4 separate regions of the Homo sapiens genome follow, and regions 2, 3 and 4 are each linked to region 1. Evidence: promoter capture Hi-C in human tissues and cell types (Jung and others, 2019). All regions are on one chromosome and are shown on one strand. The core of a region is centred on a gene start or on the middle of the fragment in contact, and the rest is flanking DNA. Distances in the headings are between cores, read along the strand shown.

Evidence for each region. Contacts are between HindIII fragments. The study calls those that stand out against the background at their distance.
Region 2: a contact is called between the fragment with the promoter of RHBDF2 here and the fragment with the promoter of MRPL38 in region 1, in 3 of the 25 tissues and cell types used here (adrenal gland, lymphoblastoid cells and spleen).
Region 3: a fragment that was not itself captured here is called in contact with the fragment with the promoter of MRPL38 in region 1 in 4 of the 25 tissues and cell types used here (dorsolateral prefrontal cortex, lymphoblastoid cells, small bowel and 1 more).
Region 4: a contact is called between a fragment that was not itself captured here and the fragment with the promoter of MRPL38 in region 1, in 1 of the 25 tissues and cell types used here (spleen).

The regions. Positions count from the first base shown.
Region 1 is chr17:75,903,613-75,909,277 of GRCh38, reverse strand. MRPL38 (mitochondrial ribosomal protein L38) reads left to right here and starts at 4,394. Exons shown (of 9, transcript NM_032478.4): 1 at 4,394-4,469; 2 at 4,559-4,738. The coding sequence starts at 4,403. RefSeq lists silencers at 3,989-4,468, 4,479-4,528, 4,549-4,598. The HindIII fragment of the contact is 5,940 bases long and covers 1-4,723 here.
Region 2 is chr17:76,499,523-76,504,908 of GRCh38, reverse strand. It overlaps RHBDF2 (rhomboid 5 homolog 2), which reads left to right and starts at 3,486. Exons shown (of 19, transcript NM_001005498.4): 1 at 3,486-3,556. RefSeq lists enhancers at 3,069-3,208, 3,559-4,228 and a silencer at 3,259-3,898. The HindIII fragment of the contact is 32,589 bases long and covers 1-5,386 here.
Region 3 is chr17:76,439,067-76,443,961 of GRCh38, reverse strand. The region is part of intron 1 of UBE2O (ubiquitin conjugating enzyme E2 O); the gene reads left to right. Among named protein-coding and RNA genes, the nearest start is that of UBE2O, 12 kb to the left of the region's middle. RefSeq lists enhancers at 850-969, 2,394-2,911. The HindIII fragment of the contact is 6,251 bases long and covers 1-4,895 here.
Region 4 is chr17:76,691,667-76,696,743 of GRCh38, reverse strand. All of the region lies in intron 1 of MXRA7 (matrix remodeling associated 7), which reads left to right. Among named protein-coding and RNA genes, the nearest start is that of MXRA7, 17 kb to the left of the region's middle. The HindIII fragment of the contact is 7,367 bases long and covers 1-5,077 here.

The DNA of each region.
Region 1 (5,665 bases), core at 3,145-5,644:
CGGCCCAGGGGCAGCTGGTATCTAGGCAGCCACCTGCAGGACCTGCAGGTGATCAAGCACATACATCGGGGAGGGCGGTGCTGGGAGACCCACAGGGGGAGAGCATGGCCTTCAAGACAGAGTAGGGAGAAGAGGTTAGAATGAGAGGGCTTTGCATATCTTGTTAAAGACGTGCAACTTTTCAGGGCAAATTTGTCTGAGGGCAAATTTTCAGGTCTTCACTAGAAGATTTTAAACAAGGTTGAACCATATTTGTATTTTAGAAAACCCATTGGCCAGGCACGGTGGTTCACGCCTGTAGTCCTAACACTTTGGGAGGCCAAGGTGGGTGGATCACTTGAAATCAGGAGTTCAAAACCAGCCTGGCCAACATGGTGAAACTCTGTTTCTACTAAAAATACAAAAAAACTAGCTGGGCATGGTGGTGTGTGCCTGTAATCCCAGCTACTTAGGAGGCTGAGGCAGGAGGATCGCTTGAACCCGGGAGGCACAGGTTGCAGAGAGCCGAGATTGCACCACTGCACTCCAGCCTAGGCGAGAGAGCAAGACTCCGTCTCAAAAAAAAAACAACAACAAAAGAAAACCCATTGTGTCTGCAGGGTGGGGACCGGACCAGAGGGGGCAAGAGTGGGACAGAGGATGTGTGGGAAGGCAGCTGGCAATGGTGCAGGGGAGGGACTGTGGGCAAGACTACCGGGCATGGCAGGGAGGGCCCACAGAAAAGTGGCCCTCGGGCCTAGTGCCAGTCATGGAGGATCAGAAAGGAAGACGTGTTGAGGACGCCCAGGTTCCTGGCTTGGGTGACTGGGTGGTGTCACAGATGAGTATACAGTGCCGGGGGGACAGCCAAGCAGAGACATTCCACAGGCACTCAGTTATAATGGCACTTTACTCAGTGTAAGCACTCAGCATTCCTGTCACCGCCATGAGGGTGTGGCAGGCATCCTAATTATCCCCTTCAGCCTTCTCCCAGGCCACAGACACTGGAGAGGGCTGAGTACAGAAATGAGTGTTGTGTAGCTGCAGCTCTTTTTTTCCTTCAAAATTGTAAACAAGATCATAACCCAAGTGCTTCATTCAGTTCCTTTTAGAGAGAGAAATATTGCGGCCGGGCGCGGTGGCTCACGTCTGTAATCCCAGCATTTTGGCAGGCCAAGGTGGGTGGATTACCTGAGGTCAGGAGTTCGAGACCAGCCTGACCAACGTGGTGAAACCCCGTCTCTACTGAAAATACAAAAATTAGCCGGGCGTGGTGGCGTGTGGCCTGTAGTCCCAGCTACTTGGGAGGCTGAGGCAGGAGAATCGCTTGAACCCAGGAGGGAGAGGTTGCAGTGAGCCGAGATTGTGTCACTGCCCTTCAGCCTGGGTGACAGAGTGAGATTTTGTCTAAAAAAAAAAAAAAAGAAAAAAAAGAAAAAGAAATATTGGTGGAATGTAATGGGTAAAACATACTGGTGCAGGTGCCGGGCGCAGTGGCTCACGCCTGTAATCCCAGCACTTTGGGAGGCCGAGGCGGGCGGATCACGAGGTCAGGAGATCGAGACCATCCTGGCTAACACGGTGAAACCCCGTCTCTACTAAAAATACAAAAAATTAGCCGGGCGTGGTGGCGGGCGCCTGTAGTCCCAGCTACTTGGGAGGCTGAGGCAGGAAAATGGCATGAACCTGGGAAGCGGAGCTTGCAGTGAGCCGAGATCAGGCCACTACACTCCAGCCTGGGCGACAGAGCAAGACTCTGTCTCAAAAAAAAAAAAAAAAAAAAAAAAAAAAACTGGTGCAGTGGTACACACCTGTAGCTGCTATCAGGAGGCCAAGGTGGGAGGATGGCTTGAGCCCAGGAGTTCAAGACCAGCCTGGGCAACATAGTGAGACCCCCATATATTTTTTTAAAATGGTAGAGCCACTGCTTCTAGTTTCAAGATATTCATCGTTATTTGCTTCAAGTTGGTACACGTGGGAATCCACGTGAAGCCTCTCTCAAACTGTTAATATCCAAGCAAGCGCCAATCAGGGTTCTAGGACAGCAAGAGGACAAGAATGGAGGAATGCACCGCCACCTGGGTGGCCAGCAGCTTCCACGCCAACTGCCAAGGCCCCATACATCTTCATCTGGAGAGGGCTGGGAGGGTCGTGGGGTAGAGCGGGTGGGTTTAGAGGCTGAAGAAAATGATTCAGAAACAAAAGGACAAGGTGGCCGGGTGCAGTGGCTCACACCTGTAATCCCAGCACTTTGGGAGGCCGAGGTGGGTGGGTCACCTGAGGTCAGTAGTTTGAGACCAGCTTGGCCAATATGGTGAAACCAAGTCTCTACTAAAAATACAAAAAATTAGCCAGGCGTGGTGGTGCATGCCTGTAATCCCAGCTACTCGGGAGGCTGAGGCAGGAGAATCACTTGAACCTGGGAGGCGGAAGTTGCAGTGAGTCGAGGTCGTGCCCCTACACTCCAGCCTGGGCGACAGAAACTCCATCTCAAAAAAAAAAAAAAAAAGGACAAGGTAAAACAGCCACGATGTAAACACACAATCCAGTTATGCTCCTGTACTGCATAACTGCAGTATGGAATGTCACAATAAGCAACTCCTTACGAGCAGGACTGGGTGTGACTGCCCCACGTATTCCCCTCCACACTTAGCATGTAGCAGGTGCACACTGCTGGGTGGATTAGAAATGACTGTGAAAGGTTTAGCTGTTTGGCTGCTGTTTATGAAAACCAGTGGAAGGTGTGGCCACTTCCTGCTGGATGGAGAGACCCTCATTCCATTCTCATTCCATCTCAAAGTGATTGTGAGGGTCAAGCTTCTGCTGGTGCCAGAGCCACTGGCCTGGTCACCACCAGCCCTGGCCTGGGATGTCAGAGCAGGCTTCCTGGAGAGACCCCTCTCCTGGGGCTGGGTGGTGGCCAGGCCAAGGTGGGGCAGTGAGGAGGTGAGAGGCAGAAGACACAGCGTATACAAAGGCCCCGTGGCCTGGAGGCAAAGTGCGATGGAAAAGTCTTGCCTTTTAGGGCAGGAGGGCCAGGGCTGGGGCAAAGGAGGGTCCCAGATTCCCCAGGCTACCAAGTTTTGCCATGGTAGAACTGGATCACAAGGGCAAGCCTGAGTCCTGCCAGAAACATTCACATCTGCACTTAACCAGGTCACTTCTGCCTTTGTGTGGATAATGAGAAGTTGGAGATAGTTGAGCTAACACACAAACCACTGCGAGCGCTTTCCAGAGGGTAATCTTTTCATCCTGACAGCTGTCAGGTAAGCACTAGTGTTAACCTGCTTTTTCCCAAATGAGGAAACCACAAGGAAGACAGTAAGGTCACGATCTGGTTTTTTTTTGGGGGGGGGGAGGGGCATTTTGAGACGGTGTCTCACTCTGGCACCGAGGTGGTGGCGCAATCTCGTCTCACTGCAGCTTCTGCCTCCCGGGTTCAAGTTAATTCTTGTGCCATAGCCTCCTGAGTAGCTGGGATTACAGGCGCCTGCCACCACGCCCGGCTAATTTTTGTATCATTAGTAGAGATACAAAAATTTTTGTATCTTTAGGGTTTTGCCATGTTCGTAGGGCTGGTCTCAAACTAATTACCTCAGATGATCCGCCCACCTCGGCCTCCCAAAGTGCTGGGATTACAGGTATGAGCCACCGCGCCCAGCCACAATCTGGGTTTTTATTACTATTATTTTATTATTATTATTATTATTGAAATAGAGTTTTCACTTTTGTCGCCCATGCTGGAGTGCAGTGGCGCGATCTCGGCTCACTGCAGCCTCCGCCTCTGCCTCCCAGGTTCAAGCGAGTCTCCTCCCTCAGCCTCCCGAGTAGCTGGGATTACAGGCGTATGCCACGCCCGGCTAATTTTTGTATTTTGAGTAGAGACGGGTTTTCACCGTGTTGGCCAGGATGGTCTCGATCTCCTGACTTCGTGATCCACCCGCCTTGGCCTCCCAAAGTGCTGGGATTCCCGGCGTGAGCCACCGCGCCCAGCCCTCAATCTGGGTTTTAAACCCAAGCAGAGTCCGGAATCGGAGCTCGCACCCCTTCTCCCAACCAGGCCTGCGTCCCTGGGGAAATCAGGACGCAGCGTCCAGGGGTTGGAGGAGGGCCCCGGCGGCCGACCCCGGTCTGTGCCGCCCCCTGGTGGCCAGCCATGGGCGAGCATATGACTGCTCTCGGCTCCGCCCCGCCGTCCAACGGGCACTTCCGGAGCCGGGCGTCTACAGACCGCGGCCACCTTCCACCTGCGCCCGAGGCAGACGGTGCAGGGGCCTCCGGGACAGGCGTCTGAGGCCTGCTCCGCAGCGCGGGCCCGGGGGCGGGCCTAGGGGCGGGGCCTGCTGTGGTGCGCTCAGGCACCGCGCTGGCCACCTGTGCCCGGGTCCTAGTGGCGGCCGCAGTGTCGCAGGCCGGAGGGAAGATGGCGGCGCCCTGGTGGCGAGCCGCGCTGTGCGAGTGTCGGAGATGGCGGGGCTTCAGCACCTCGGGTGAGGGGTGGGCAGCTCTGCGGGGGGGGGGGGGGGGGCTGTCGCCCGAGCTGTGGGGCGCCGGCCTTACGTCTTCTCTCTGCCCGCAGCCGTCCTGGGCCGCCGGACACCCCCGCTGGGGCCGATGCCCAACAGTGACATCGACTTGAGCAACCTGGAGCGGCTGGAGAAGTACCGGAGCTTCGACCGCTACCGGCGCCGAGCAGAGCAGGAGGCGCAGGCCCCGCACTGGTGGCGGACCTACCGAGAGTATTTCGGGGAGAAGACAGGTGCGGGGCGACTGGAGCAGGGGCTGCAGCCACCGCCCGGGGAACTCGGGACCCGCCGGCGTTTTCCCCGGGCGCTGGGCGAGCCTTGCCGGCGCCCTTGTGGATGCTGGGGACGCTGGGAGGGCCTGCCTGCAGACCTGTGTGCGCTATCGGCAGCTTAATCACCCCAGGATTTTTCACACCTTCTGCACCTCATTCTTGGAAAATTCGCTCCCCCTACTATTAGAGTTCCAGCTCCTAAAATATTTGCTCCTAAAATCTTGACCACCTGACTTTCCGGATTGGGATGCCGTTCTGTGCGCCTCAAATACTCTGTAGGTAACTCTGGCCACACTGCATTCTGACTGTGCGCTGCCTCTCCCCAGATTGTAAGCGCCCTGTTGACAGGGATCCTGCTTGTCTTGCCCTCCATTGGATCCTTGCACCCGAACAGTGCAAGGATGTACATGTGCAATACTTTGCTGAATGAAATTAAAGGCCTGGGCAGGGTGACTCAAAAAAGAACCCAACCTGGCCGGGCGCGGTGGCTCACGCCTGTAATCCCAGCACTTTGGGAGGCCTAGGCGGGCGGATCACCTGAGGTCGGGAGTTCGAGACCAGCCTGACCAACATGGAGAAACCCCGTGTCTGCTAAAAATACAAAATTAACTGGGCGTGGTGTCGCATGCCTGTAATCCCAGCTACTCGGGAGGCCTCTGAGGCAGGAGAATCGCTTGAACCCAGGAGGCAGAGGTTGCGGTGAGCCGAGATCGCGCCATTGCACACCAGCCTGGGCAACAAGAGCGAAACTCCGTCTCAAAAAGAAAAAAAAAAAAAGACCCCAACCTTTAAGGAACTTACAATTTATGGAGTATATGCTTTTCTTTTCTTTTCTTTTCTTTAGCATTTATAGAGGCAGTTTTGTGGTGGTTAAAGGCACAAGCGTGG
Region 2 (5,386 bases), core at 2,237-4,736, 600 kb before region 1:
TTGTAATCCCAGCACTTTGGGAGACAGAGGCAGGAGGATCACCTGAGGTTGGGAGTTCGAGACCAGCCTGACCAACATGGAGAAACCCCATCTCTACTAAAAATATACAAAATTAGCCAGGTGTGGTGGTGCATGCCTGTAATCCCAGCTACTTGGGAGGCTGAGGCAGGAGAATCGCTTGAACCCGAGAGGTGGAGGTTGTGGTGAGCCGAGATTGCGCCATTGCACTCCAGCCTGGGCAACAAGAGAGAAACTCTGTCTCAAAAAAAAAAAATTAGTTGGATGTGGTGGCGCATGCCTGTAATCCCAGCTGCTCGGGAAACTGAGACACGAGAATCACTTGAACCCAGAAGGCCGAGGTTGCAGTGAGTGGAGATTGCGCCACTGCACTCCAGCCTGGCGACAGAGCGAGACTGCGGTTCAAAAATAAATAAATAATAATAATAAATGAAATAGTGTCTGTGAAAGCATGTTTTAAAGGAGGGGACACAAGCAGAAAATATGAGGGTGCAATTTCCTAGTTGAAGAATGCCTCATGGGCTCCCCCTTGCTTACAGAAGAAAGTAAAAACCCTTATCCAGACACACAGCAGCCTCCACCCTGAGCCCCCGCTGCCTCCCCAGGCTTCTCCTGTCCTCCTCCTCACACAGCCTGCGATGTAGCCAAGCCATAGCACCAGAAGCTTCCCCACCACAGCCAGTTTCCCGGCTGTGTCTTCGTTCTTGTTCTTCCCACTAGAAATCCCTTTCCTTATCCCAATCTGTGAAGATCTTCCCTACACCTGTAGGTCCATAAAAATAAAAAAGCTTAGACGGTGTTTTTCACTTATTCTTTCTTTTTCTTTTCCTTTTTTTTTTTTTTTTTTTTTTGAGACAGAGTTTCCCTCTTATTGCTTAGGCTGGAGTGCAATGGTGCAATCTCAGCTCACTGCAACCTCTGCCTCCCGGGTTCAAGCGATTCTCCTGCCTCAGCCTCCCGAGTAGCTGGGATTACAGGCATGTGCCACCACGCCTGGCTAATTTTGTATTTTTAGTAGAGATGGGGTTTCTCCATGTTGGCCAGGCTGGTCTCGAACTCCCGACCTCAGGTGATCTGCCCGCCTCGGCCTCCCAAAATGCTGGTATTACAGGAGTGAGCCACTGCGCCCGGCCAACAGTGTTTTTCTTTAAGTTATAAAAGTAAAATATGTAAAGTGTAATCCCACCGATTTTGGAGGCCAAAGCAGGATCACTTGAATCCAGGAGTTTGAGGCCAGCCTGAGCGACGTAGTGAGGCCCCCCCCCACCGCCCACCACCATCTCTACAAAAAAAAAATTTAGTTAGCCAGAAAGGATGGCGTGCACCTATAGTCCCAGCTACTCAGGAGGCTGAAGTGGGAGGATCACTTGAGCCCCAGAGGTCGAGGCTGCAATAAGCCATGAGTATACTGTACTCCAGCCTGGGTGACACCAAAACCTTGTCTCAAAACAAAAACAAAGAGTTTAGACAGTGTTTCTCTTTAAGTTATGTAAGTAATATATGCACATGATACAAAATGAAAAGCAAGTGACTCTCTCCCCCTAAACCCCTGCAGGGTTACTCCACAGATATCCTTCCAGAAAGTTTGTATGGATCTACCAACATATATATGTCTGTTCTATTTAAATTTAGGTAAATAGGATTATACTAAACATGCAGCTTGCTTTTTTTTTTTTAACTTACTATAAGTTGGAGATAATTCCTTTCTCAGTACATGGATAGCTGCCTCGTTGCTTTTAACAGCTGTGTGACATTATCACAAGTTATACCCCTGGCCTATTTAACATTCTTCCCTCTCTGGCCTCACAGGTGCGTGTTGCTGCAGCCAAGGCTGTAATCAGCCTCCCTGCACCTATGTGGCCGGGCAGCACGCCATGTTTGCATGGGACAAATCCCTGACACCAGCTTAAGCACCACCATGAATCCCTCCCCTCCTGGGGACTCCTGCAGAGCTTCCAGTAGAGCTCCAGGAGAGAGAACCCAGCTCAGGCATTTGCAGCAGTGTTTGTTAGAGTCTAAAGTCAGATCATGACCGAGTTTAAACCCCAGCTGCTCCCCTCACATCTCCCTCTGCCTCAGTTTTCTCATCCCTAAAATGGGGATGATCATAATGGTACCCACTTCATAGACCTGTACTGCGGATTATACAGACTAAAGCACTTTGGAATGGCTAGCTGCTCTCACCCTTCCTGTTACAGTATTGAGTTCCAACGTCTCCCTGTAGAATGCTGGCACTTCGTGGGCAGGCCCTGGTTTTGTTCCTCTCTGCACATAACCCCAGGATGTGCTGGTTGCACAATAAATGGTCCCTTACATTTGTTACTAGGAGCAACCCCCACCCCAGCTTTGGCCCACTCCCCCTCCTTCCAGCCTGTGCCCTCCTCATGGCCCCAGAGCTGGGGAGGAGAGATGCATCTCTCAGGATAATCTCCAGCAGCCAGGTGCTCCCCACCTCCACCCAGGTCAGCAATAAACACCAGAGTCCTTGGGTTGGGGGGCAGGGTGGCTCAGGAGCTCTCTAAGGGCCAGAGGTTTTGCCTTGGCCCTGACAACCCCACCCCCACCCCTCCAAGCCTGAGTCTCTTCAAACTCTGCTCCTCCTGGCCTAGCCAGGCCTCCTGGAGAGGGACGGCGAGATGATAAGCGCTGGGGCTGAGAACGGGGCATCCAGACCTTGGAGTTCGGTCCTAGCTGCCCTGGCCAAGGTTTTGTTTGTCTAGTCCCAAGAGGCAGGCCCTTGGAGTCCAGGGAAGAGAGAAGGAACCACCTGGGCAGACAGACCCAAGCCAAGGGGCCAGGTGTCGCCAGCGTCCCCAATCTCCAGTCTGGCTCTGGCCCGCATGGCAGCTGGAAGGGCCAGAGCTGGGTGGGTTCTGTCAATGCTTCTACGGGGTGTGTAGGGGGTTGGCAGGAGTCACAAATGTTGGCCTTAGCTGCAGGGCAAATGCAGATAGGACCTCCACGGAGTGCCTGTTCCCAACCCAAGGGCACAGCAGAGCTAGGAGAGAGGCCTCAGGGTCCAGGAGGGAGAGGAGGTGTTCAGGCCCAGCTTCCCGGAGAGAGTGTGACTACAGACTAAAAGGGTCAAGGGAACAGGCCCACTTGGCCTGAGGATGAGGGCGCTGGAAGAAGGGGATGGGAGATTGGGTGCTTTTTCTTGATGGGGAGGGGCGACTTGAAGACGGCAATCAAGACCTAGATGACGTGTTTGGTCTGGGGTGGAGTGAGGACGCCAAGAGGGAAAGGACGGCGCCCTGAAGAGACCAGCTCAGGCGAAAACAGGGCTCTGCCCAGGCGGGGACCCAGCTGGGTGGAGGGCGGAGGCAGGAACCCAGGAAGCCGACTGAGCAAAGACTGCGTCCAGGCCCCGCCCCCATGAGCCCGGCCACGCCCCCTGGAGCCCAGCCCCGCCTCCCGGCCGCCCGCGCGCAGGTAGGGAAGAGGCGGAGCGCCGCCGCCCCGCCCCCGAGGAGCCACCGCCCAGCCGCTCGCAGGCGCCGCACGGAGTTGCGTCCCGGGGACTTGGGGCCGCAGGGAGGTGAGCGCGGGGCGACGAGCGGGGCAGGACTCACGGCCGCCCAGCCGCAGGCGCCGGAAGGGTCCCGAGGTTGTGCCCGAGCCTGCCCTGGAGCGGTGGTGCGCGGCCAGGAAGGGTGCCCAGTGCCCGGTGCCCGCCCTGCGGAGCGCCTGGGTCCCACGTGGGCTCGGCTGGAGGCCCGGGCTGGCTCAGACGGCGCCGGCGGGGCCGCTGGACCCGGTCTGCTGGCCCCTAGGGCTCGGCTCGGACAGGACGCCTAAGGGGTCCCTGGGCGACGGGGCGCCAGATGTAGGGGCAAGACGATTGGGCAGAGATTTAAACCTCCGGAGGAAGAGAGGAGACTGCGCAGGGCAGTCCCGCCTGCGTCCCAGAAGTGCCTGCAGTTCAGACCCTTCTCTCCCCTCCACTTTCTCCCGGGTGAGCACCGGGCGGACCGGGGCCGAAGTTTGTTGGTTGAGCCAGCCAAGGTGGAAACAGGTGCGGGGGTGGGGATGAGGGACTCACACAGCAGGGCTGGACCGGAGCTCAGAAATTGGACCCAGGAGTCCTGACTTCTGGATGGAGGGGCTGGGGAAGGTTGGCCCTGGGCTTGCCTTTTACCTGTTTGGCCCCTCGGATGTTCCCCCAGGGCATTGGGATAGAGACGGATAAGTTCCCTAGGGTACAGACCCCGCCCCACTCCCACGCCAGGGCGCAAAGGAAGCCTAGGTTTTGGCCCTGCCCCATTCCATGAAAGATTAACGGAGGGGGCTCTAGGGTTGGAGCTACTGAGAGGGTGGCAGCGGGTGTGTCTGAGGAGCAGAAGGCGGTGGGGAGCTGACCCCACTTGGGGAGAGGCTGCTGTTGCCTGGGCGGCTGGCATCAGGCCCCCAGTGTGTGCCATTTGCTGGTAATATAATGAGACCAGCATCTGCCTTATTCGACCCTCACTGTCCGTAGGGCAGGCAGTGGAAAGGGAGGCGTGTTTTAGAGCTGTGGTTCTCAACCAGGGGCGACTTTGCCTGCCATGGGATATTTGGCAATGTTGGAGTCATTTTGGGTGTCACACACTTGGGAGGGGAAGTGAGTGTTGTTGTTACTGGCAGGTAGTGGGTAGAGGCCAGGGACGCTACCAGACATCTTCAGGGCACGGAACAGCCCACATAACGAGGAATTATCCAGCCCAAGGTGTTGGGCTGTGCTGAGGCTGAGAAACCCTGCGCAGCAGCTGGTCCATCAGGTTCCTTCTCAATGATGCTCCCTCACTGGGGAAACTACCTCAGTTTTCCAGAGTGGTTAGGGGAGGAACTTGGAATAAACCTGAATGAGATGAGGGGTAAGGCAGTGTGAGGGCACTTATTCCCCTCACAAGAGTCTTCCTTTGGTGCCATGAGACACCGCCTTTCCCAATCTCCACTGGCCCTGCAGGAAGCTGGTCTAGGTGCTGTGGGGGAGAGGTTGGGAACAGAGGACCCCCTTGCAGCCCAGGCCTGGGGTGCTTAACCCCAGGGCAATCTCCCAGGAAGGCTGGGCTGAGGCAGCCCTTGAGCTCAAATATCCCTGGGCTGGGAGGGTGGGCAGAGGGCGAGCTCTCTTCCCATAGATTTTCCCAAAGCTGGATTGCTGAAGCTGGCATGGTTGCCTGATACCATGTGACCTGCTGGAATTTTCCCTTCTGAACTCACACCTAACTCCTCCAATTATGTACACCTTTTGAAAGTGACATCCAAGGAGTATCAGGGCTCCTAATTCCTGGGGGGTCCCCAGGCTGCTTTTGTCCTGCAATAAAGAGGGCACCCTGGGTTAGCTGACGAGCCCTGGAGTGGGCCCAGCTGCTGATGGGGTGGAGGC
Region 3 (4,895 bases), core at 1,242-3,741, 540 kb before region 1:
GGCATGAGCTACCGCGCCTGGCCGACCATGCCCTCTTAACGGTATTTCCTTCCTTGGGGTTCTATTATACCAGACTATACCAAATGTTTCTCTTTTTTGCCTTTTGTCTTCTTCCTCTTACCCATAGATGTGCAGCTTTTCCAAAGACCTCTCTTTTCTTTATCTCTTCCTCCCCAGTTTTTTGGAGTGACCTCCCTGCTTGTAGCTGCATCTGGTACCTGTATTTAGGTGACTTCCACAGTGACATCACATGCCCAGCTGCTTACTTGATAGCTCCATTGTGCCATGTAGACTTTGTGGGTATAAAATCTTGTGATTGTGACTGCCCTTCCCATCCCCAAGTCTGTGGACTTAAAAAAAAAAAAAATGTTCTGACTGGGCACAGTGGCTCACGCCTGTAATCCCAGCATTTTGGGAGGCCGAGGTGGGTGGATCACTTGAGGTCAGGAGTTCGAGACCAGCCTGGCCAACATGGTGAAACCCCATCTCTACTAAAAATGCAAAAATTAGCCATGCGTGGTGGTGGGTGCCTGTGATCCCAGCTACTCGGGAGGCTAGGGCAGGAGAATTGCTTGAACCCAGGAGGCAGAGGTTGCAGTGAGCCGAGATCGTGCCCCGGCACTCCAGCCTGGGCGACAGAGTGAGACTCTTTCTCGAGGAAAAAAATATATATATATATTCCCCAACTTTTTTTGTTTTTGGTTCTGAACCCAAGACCCAACTTTTTAATAGGAAAAAATATTGACCATACCAAAATGTTGAAAGCCAGTAATTGCTAACCCCCAACCATTATGAGTCAGCAGTTGTTAACATCCTGCCATATTTGCCTTATCTGTATGCTTATGTAAATATATTTCCTCCTGAATTATGTCTGGTACTAACTCCTGCTAAGTTAGTGGCAGACATGATAGCACTTCACCCCTAAATACCTAAGCTTGAATCTTCTCAAAATTAGAGCATTTGGGGTCATTTTTAATTTACCTTCTTTGGCCCTCATTCTAACTTGTCATCAGTTCTTTGAGAGGCCTCTTGCATCCTGTGCCTGCATTTCCCTTTCACAACCCTGGTTTGCTCTCTGCTTGCCTCATGCCTGCACTGTGTAGCCTTCTCCCTGGTCTCCCTGCCTCTAGTCCTCCTTCAACCAGTGAACAGCGCTGCCGCCAACTGACCTCCAAAGGGCTGACCTCCCAAGTGATCGCCTGGATTGTGTCAGGACCCAGCCTCTGATCATGCCTTGGTTGTCATTCAGGGCCCCTCACCTACACATCCTGCTCTATCTCCTGCCTCTTCAGTTGATTCCAGCCAATCTGACTGCTTTTCCCCAACTCAATTGTGCCGTTCCCTTCCTCTCATGCCCCATGGCACACCCACATTCTCTCCTGGATGGGAAGCTCCTTGAGAAACAGAGACAGCAAATCCTAAAGCTTGTGTGCTATCACGCACATGCAGACTCTTGGGAAACATCTTCATGAATGACCAGTTTGCTCCCTCCCACTTACTACAAATAGTATTCTTAGTCTTCTTCCAGATGCCCTGTGGTCTGTGCTGGAGCTGTATGGGCCCCTTACTAGACCACTCTGTCTCCCACCCCCCGTACTAGGTGTGTTGACCATGTACAGTAATTTATTGCCCAAGTTGGGTTCTTTTGAGAGTACTATGAATAATTACTCCAGGACTGGGACGTATGGGCATCCTAATACTAGGAAGAGCAGATTAATCAGAATACACCATATTGTAGTTACTACTTTGGCAACTTCCGTCGCGGGCTCCCCAGGCAGACTACGTGCATTGTGGACTAGGCTAGAGCTAGCTAGAGCTGGTGTCACCTGTGGTCGAAATGAAGCTGCTTCTGGCTGCATTTCCCCTGTAAGAACCCCGCCTAAAGCACTTGACAAATGGCAGATTCCACACACGTGGGTTTCCTGAATGGTTATCAGCACCCAGTCCTCACCTTAGGAGGATGGCTAAGTACGAACGAGGCTCTCTATTGGAAAAAGAATGCCCCACCCGACTGCAAATGAATCAGGAACGCAGCTTAGGCTATGCACTCTGCCTGCACCAAGACCCTTGGGGGCGGGGCCTGGAGTTGCAGTGGCTATGCCAGGCCTATTACTTTGAAGGAGTCAGGAACCATCTATTGAAAGTAGATATAACCACCCCTGTTTATCAGTGGAGGGGGAGGGGGAAGTGAAGAGAGCATGAATAAATGGATTCTAATCCAGCACTTTTCCAAGGTGAATGCCACATGCCATCACCTAGGGTCTCCTAATGCAAATTGTCCTAATTCCATTGGGCTGAAGAATCTGCGTGTCTAACAAACTCCCAGTGACATTGATGCTGCTGGCTGGGACTGTCTTTTGAATTGCACTTATATGGGCCCTTCCAAACCTCGTTGATGTCAATGGGTTCAGTTTTAGTACGTCTTTGGTTCGAGGCTTTTTCTCTCCCCTCTGCTTATTCTTCTAGTGCCAGTGTTAATGAACCGGGAATTGTCCAAAGGTGGGCTGCAGGAGGGGCAGGAAAGGGATGAGGCGGACTCATCATCCGCCAGTGCTTTAGTGTTAGAAAGGCTTGCCTCTTTCTTCCTCCCCATTGCTTGCTGGTGGTTATTATTAATGCACTGCTGTTGCTAAGAAGTTTCATTTGATTTCATTTCATTTTAGGATGTAAATATGGTAGTTGTTTTGAGTATAACACACCCAATCCAAGAGGAGAATGATTATTCAGCATTTTAATGAAATTGCTGTCTTTTATCCAGCCAGTGTCAATGGATTCCTGCTGTGAGCCAGGCATGTTAACTCACACTTTACCTGTGTCATCTCACTTCCCTTAAAGTGGCCAGTGCCCCATTTTAGAAAAGGAAAGACTGAAACCCAGAGAAAGCTTATAACTCACCAAGGCCACATAGCAAGTGGGAGGCCAACCCAAATTCAAACTTAGGCCAGTTTGTGCTGCCCGAATGCAGGTTCTCTTCACTGACTACACGGGTGCCCCCTGCACTGTGCTGGGTGCTGTGGGGAGAGAGATACCCCCACACAGGCCCTGCCCTCTAGATAAGGGGCCAGCCAAACTTTCTGTAAAGGGCCAGATGATAAATGTCCTAGTGTTGCAGGCTATACTGTCTCCTTCACAACAACTCAGCTTTGCCATTATAGCACAAAAGCATTCAGAGGCAGTAAGCAAATGAATGGGCATGGTCATGTTCCAATAAAATTTTAAGAAACAGGCAGTAGGCTGGACATGACCTGCAGGCTGTAGTTTTCCCACCTCTGCTCTGGAAGGATCCTGAAAAATAGAGATACAATGTGAGCCACAGCTGAAAAAAGTAAATAGAGGCCAGGCATGGTGGCTCATGGCTATAATCCCAACACTTTGGGAGGCCAAGCCAGGCGGATCACTTGAGGCCAGGAGTTCGAGACCAGCCTGGGCAACATGATGAAACCCCATCTCTTCAAAAAGTACAGAAATCATCTTAGCGTGGCAGCTTACGCCTGTAGTCCCAACTACTCAGTAGGCTGAGGTGAGAGGATCGCTTGAGTCCTGGCGGTCGAGGTGGCAATGGGCCGTGATCGTGCGACCCATTGCCCTTAAGCCTAGGCAACAGAGCAAGACCCTGTCTCAAAGTAAAAAAAACAAAGAGATGAAATTAATTTTAATATATTTTACTTAACCCAATGTATTCAAAATATTATATCAACATATAACTCATATGATAAGTACTAATGAGAGACTGTGCGTTCTTTTTACCATAGTGGCTACTGGATTGGGTAGCACTGCTTCAGAGACTTAGATAGGAGAGAGAACCATCGCTGTGATCTCCTACTCAGCTTTTTTCCCTCATAGCACCTGGCATTACCTGAGATTATACTACTTCATGTCCTGTTTACTGTCCCCAGCCGGAAGGTAAGAGAAGCACAGAAGCATCTCTGTCACTGCTATATCCTCAGTGACTGGCCCAAAGTAGGTGCTAGGAGAGATTTGTTTAGTGAGCACTTGGGAAATGGCAGATTGCACACATGCGAATGAGTGGAATTAGTGGGTGAATGACTGATGCACATAAGGGAGCGAGAGCCTAGTTCCACCTGCAGGACACAGTTGAGATGCTGAAGGATGTGGTGGGGAGCATTAGGAGATGCTGTCATGGAGGTGCCTTTTGAGTTCACTCTTGAAAGATAAGAGCTTGGAATAGCAGCAGTGGAGGGCAGGGCGTCCTGGGCGGGAAGTCCAGTGCGCATAAAGGCAAGAGAGGCAGGAAGTTCATTTCAGTGGTTTCAGACTTAGGCCTCAGAACTCCTTTAACTTAAAAATTATTGAGGACCACAATAATTTTTTAGCTTTGTGAGCTTTTATTTGTATGGGTTGTTTCTATTAACATCTACCATTTAAGAAAACAAACTTAAAAACCAAGAATGCCTGGGCATACATTCTATTGGCCATCAGAGCAGTGACGTCATCACACATCATGTAGCCTCTGGAAAATTCCACTGCAGACTTTGGAGAGGATGAGAGGAAAAAAGGCAAATAACGTCTTGGTCTTGTTATAGAAAATTTTTGACTTTGGACCTCCTGAAAGGGTTTCAGGGATCCCTGGGCCATATTTTGAGGACCACTGAGCTAGAGGTGGGGTGGAAGAAGTCAGGTGAGAGAGTGCTGGCAGGCGAGGCTGCACAGGACTGTAAATAACGATAACAACAAAGGTTTGTTGGCACCTGCCGCGTTCTAGGCACAGTCACTGGAGAACCCCGTGAAGTAGGTGTTCTTACTTCACAGAGGAGGAGAGGTTAAGGCAGTGAGCAGAAAGGCTTGGGCTAAAGCCAGGCAAGCGCCTCCAAACCACGCCGTCAGCTGCCCCTGGAAAGGCCACTGGTGTCATGCTTGCTGTGTGTGTGCAGGTC
Region 4 (5,077 bases), core at 1,224-3,723, 790 kb before region 1:
GAAGGCCAGGTGCCTTTAGCATCGCAGTTTGGGCCTTTATCATCTCTCCCCTGAGCTCTGTACCCTCTTCTCATAGTTCCTCCTGCCTCTTCTCTTGCCCCATTGCAATCCTCCCACCTCAGCCTCCCAAGTGCAGCTCTCACTCTGTTTGTCCGTGTTTATTTTTTTCGTTTAAAAAATTTGTATTGACACCTGTTTATTTTTTATTTTTATTTATTTTTTTAGAGGCAGGGTCTCCCACTGTCACTCAGTTGGAGTACAGTAACATCATCATAGCTCACTGCAGCCTCAAACTCCTGGACTCAAGCGATCCTCCCACCTCAGCCTCCGAAGTATCTGGGGCTACAAGCACATGCCACCACCCCCGGCTAATTTGTTAATTTTTTATAGAGATGGGGGTCTCACTTCATTGCCCAGGTTGGTCTCAAACCCCTGGCATCAAGCAGCCCTCCCACCATGGCCTCCCAAAGTACTGGCATTACAGGTGTGAGCCACCGCGCCCAGCCTTGTTTATCCCTGTTTGAAAGTTTCAGGTGGCTTCTCACTTCCTGAGGAATGAAACCAAACGCTTTAGTGTCCTGTATATGATCTCTGTGGTTGCAGACCCTGCATTTCTGCACACTGTTTCTTTCTTTCTTTTTTTCTTTTTGAGATAGAGTCACGCTCTGTCACCCAGGCTGGAGTGCAGTGGTGCGATCTCGGCTTACTGCAACCTCCGCCTCCTGGGTTCAAGAGATTCTCCTCCCTCAGCCTCCCAAGTAGCTGGGATTACAGGCACCCGCCACCACACCTAGCTAATTTTTGTATTTTTTTAGTAGAGAGGGGGTCTCACCGTGTTGGCCAAGCTGGTCTTGAACTCCTGGCCTCAAATGATCCACCTGCCTTAACCTCCCAAAGTGCTGGGATTACAGGCATAAGCCACAACACCCAGCCTCTGCACACTATTTCTGACTGTGTCACACCCACCCTGCAATCATACCCAAGTCTGTAGAGCCACTGGAAGAGCCGAGGTGTTCCGTGCCTCCATGCCTTTACATGGGCTGTGCACTCTGCCCAGATGCCCTTCTCTCTACATCTGCCTGGCAAGCCCATCTCGGACCCAGCGTGGCTTTCTCATCCACTCTGAGGCCTTCTTTGCTCCCTGCAGACACAGCTGAGCTCCCTTTCCTCCAGGCCCCCACCGTGCACACTCCTGAAAACATAGCTGCAAATTTGATTGTGCCAAAGCGGAAGGAAAGATGGGCGTGCTATGAGGGAGGCACGAAGGTAAAATCCTTAGTGCCAGCTCTCTGTTGAGCACAGCCTTAGACGATGGAGCTCTGGTATTTCGCACAAGGTTTTGCTTTATCCCTTCCCATCCCGTTGCACACACACACACACACACACACACCTGAAGCTAAAGAGCCACCCCTTGCAGAAGGGTTTGTGTCTTTGTCTCCATTGCACTGTGTCTGAAACCGGCACTTCTTACTACTGGAGTCAGCACTTTCACTTTTCTGTTGTGTCCACACTTTTATAAAATCAGGGCAAAATGCAGTCAACACTGGTGGTTTTATTGTTTTATTTTGTTTTGTTTTGTTTTTGAGACGGAGTTTCGCTCTTGTTGCCCAGGCTGGAGTGCAATGGCTTGATCTTGGCTCACTGCAACCCCCACCTCCCGGGTTCAAGCGATTCTCCTGACTCAGCCTCCCAAGTAGCTGGGATTACAGGTGCCTGCCACCATGCCCAGCTAATTTTTTTTATTTTTTAGTAGACCCAGGGTTTCACTATGTTGTCCAGGCTGGTCTCGAACTGCTGACCTCAGGTGATCCACCCACCTCAGCCTCCCAAAGTGCTGGGATTACAGGCCCCCGGCCCCCGTTATTTTTTAAAAAAGTAAAACACCACAGCCAGAAGCAGGGAGGCTGAGGCAGGCAGATCCCTTGGGCCCAGGAGTTCAAGCCCAGCCTGGGCAACATGGCAAAACCTCATCTATACCAAAAATACACAAATTAGCCAAGCCTCGTGGCCCATGTCTGTAGTCCCAGGTACTAGGGAAGCTGTGGTAGGAGGATTGACGGAGCCTGGAAGGGCAAGGATGCAGTGAGCCGAGATCGCATCACTCTACCAACAGCCTGGGTGACAGTAAGACCCTGTCTCAATAATAACAATAATAATAATTGGAATTCATTCAATTATTATTAGTATATTCTTTAAAAGCCTAACAAGTTACCCAGATAAAAGTGAGGATGTTATTTCCAGTAGAAGCCCAGGTGTGAGGCCCTGGGATGCCTCTATGAGGTGCAGTTTGATAACCACTCAAAAAAACATTCCATGGCTATCCAACCCTTGACTTCAGCAGAGCTGAGATTTGATGCAGGCAAATTTGAGATGTTCTTGGCCTGCAAAGTCTGAGTGTGGTGAGTGGTGGACAGGAGAGGTGTCAGTGGATGGCGGACACCGTGGTCCAGGGGCTGTGGGAGTTGGAATGGAGCGGTTCTCAGGCAGGGAAAGGCAGGGTGGAATGGCCTCAGGACAAGCACATGGTAGGGGAGGGGGCTCTCCAACGAGTCTCTCCACCCGGGCCCACTCTAGGCAGCTCACTGCTCTGGTCCCAGAGGGTCCTTGTCCCCCAAGCAGAAATTGGGCTCCTGGGCCTATGCCCCCGCCCATCCAGATAAGTAGATGGAAGGGGGAGGGTTTGACCGCCCCAACTGGGGCCACGGGATTCAAGGGACAACTTCCAAAAGAACAGGGGATTTCTGCACAGACAACAAAATAAATGGCCAATTGAGCAGTGTTTTCAAGCTTTTTTTAATTAGGTGTCACAATAAGAAAGAAATTTTAAATTACATCCTGTATATAAAGTCACACAGCTACACCAGAAGTTTTTTGTTGTGTTGTTGTTTTGTTTTCTTTTGTTTGAGACAGGCTTTCACTCTTTCACCTAGGCTGGAGTGTAGTGGTGTGATCTCGGCTCACTGCAGCCTTGACCTCCTGGGCTCAAGTGATCCTCCCACCTCAGCCTCAGCTGGGACTACAGGCACATCCCACCATGCCCAGCTAATTTTTGTAATTTTTTTGTAGAAATGAGGTTTGACATGTTGCCCAGGGCGGTCTCAAACTCCTGGGCTCAAGCAGTCCACTTGCCTCAGCCTCCCAAAGTGCTGGGATTACAGGCGTGAGCCACCTCACCTGGCCCCAGAAGTTTTATAAACCAGTATCTAACTCTACCACACACAAAACACTGTTTGTCTTTAATTTCTTTTTCTTTTTTTTTTTTTTTTTTGAGACAGATCTCAAAAAAAAATCCAGTCTGTTGCCCAGGCTGGATTGCAGTGGCGTGATCTCAGCTCATTGCAACTTCCGCCTCCCAGGGTCCAACGATTCTCCTGCCTCAGCCTCCCAAGTAGCTGAAGCAGTCGTGCACCACCACACCCAACTAATTTTTGTATTTTTAGTAGAGACGGGATTTCCCCATGTTGGCCAGACTGGTCTCGAACTAATGACCTCGTGATCCATCCGCCTCGGCCTCCCAAAGTGCTGGGATTACAGGCATGAGCCACCGCGCCCAGCCTTGTCTTTTATTTCATTCTGGGATACAGGGGTGTCCCCAGAGTCTTAGTGCAGTTTTAATAAATAACTTCAGATGTTTAAATGTACAAACCTACAAAACATCAGTTGAATATTTACTTATTTAAATTTCTTTTCCACTTAGTTTCCTGACAGTCAAGTGCTAGATTTTTTCATTTTAATTCTCCGCATGTGCTAGTGTCTGGAGGGACAGGCAGGCAAAGGACCCCTTTCCTGGGCTGAATTGACCTCCCTTGAGGTCACGTGTGCACAAAATCCAGTTCTTTGGAACCTGGTGAAGCTGGAATCACCAGTGCAATCTTTTCCCGTCACTGACCAACAGTCGATAAAAGGTTTTTCGAAGTTTGAACAACTAGAGCCATGTATAGCACTAGAGGGGGTACTGTAAGAATCTGAGTGAGAGATATCAAGGTATTTTAAATGTAAATAACCTTTCAAATGTCATTTTTTGGTACATTTGTAGTATCTATACTTCTGAAGTTATTAAAGCCTCAAACTTCACCAAGACTTTGGTCGCCCATTTTTTTTTTTTTTTAACAATACTAGTAAGGCCTTCTCATTTGCTTTCCTGACCCATCAATGGGTCATGACCACAGCTTTTTAAAAATCAGACTTCCAGGCCGGGCGCGGTGGCCCACACCTGTAATCCCAGCAGTTTGGGAGGCCGAGACGGGCGGATCACCTGAGGTCGGGAGTTCGAGACCAGCCTGACCAACATGGAGAAACCCCATCTCTACTAAAAATACAAAATTAGCCAGGTGTGGTGGCACATGCCCATAGTCCCAGCTACTCGGGAGGCTGAGGCAGGAGAGTCGCTTGAACCTGGGAGGTGGAGGCTGCAGTGAGGCAAGATCGTACCATTGCACTCCAACCTGGGCAACAAGAGTGAAACTGTCTCAAAAAAAAAAAAAGAAAAAATCAGACTTCCAAAGTCAAGTACAATTTTTTTTTTCTTTTGGTGACAGGGTCTTACTCTTGCCCAGGCTGGAATGCAGTGGCACCCCCATGGCTTACTACAGCCTCAACCTCTTGGGCTCAAGCGACGCACCTGCCTCGGCCTCCCAATGTGCTGTGATTACAGGTGTGAGCCACTGTGCCTGGCCCAGAATCTAAATGTGTACCAGCCTCTCTGTGCTCAGGAGGGCTTGGGCACGTCAGCTGATACTGGGTCCTTTGGGGATACGGATCTGCCCTGGCTCATGGACTCCTCGCCCTGGAGTGCAATTATTTGTTTGTCTTTCCTACTGGACCACGAGCTCCGTAAGGCAGGGACTGTGCTCATTGTTGCTGTTGTTTTTCATTTAATCTTTGTGTCCTTTGCACATAATAGGAGAACTGGCCTCCTGTCTATTCTTGATATTGGGCTTAGTTCCGGGGCCGTGCCCTGAATAGGTCAGTGACTGTTTGCCTGTCATTAAAGAGAGACATCAACCATGAGAAAAACCAACTGTTTTTCTGTCCATGCACACAACACTCCACAGAACCCTTCACTTCTGATACCAAA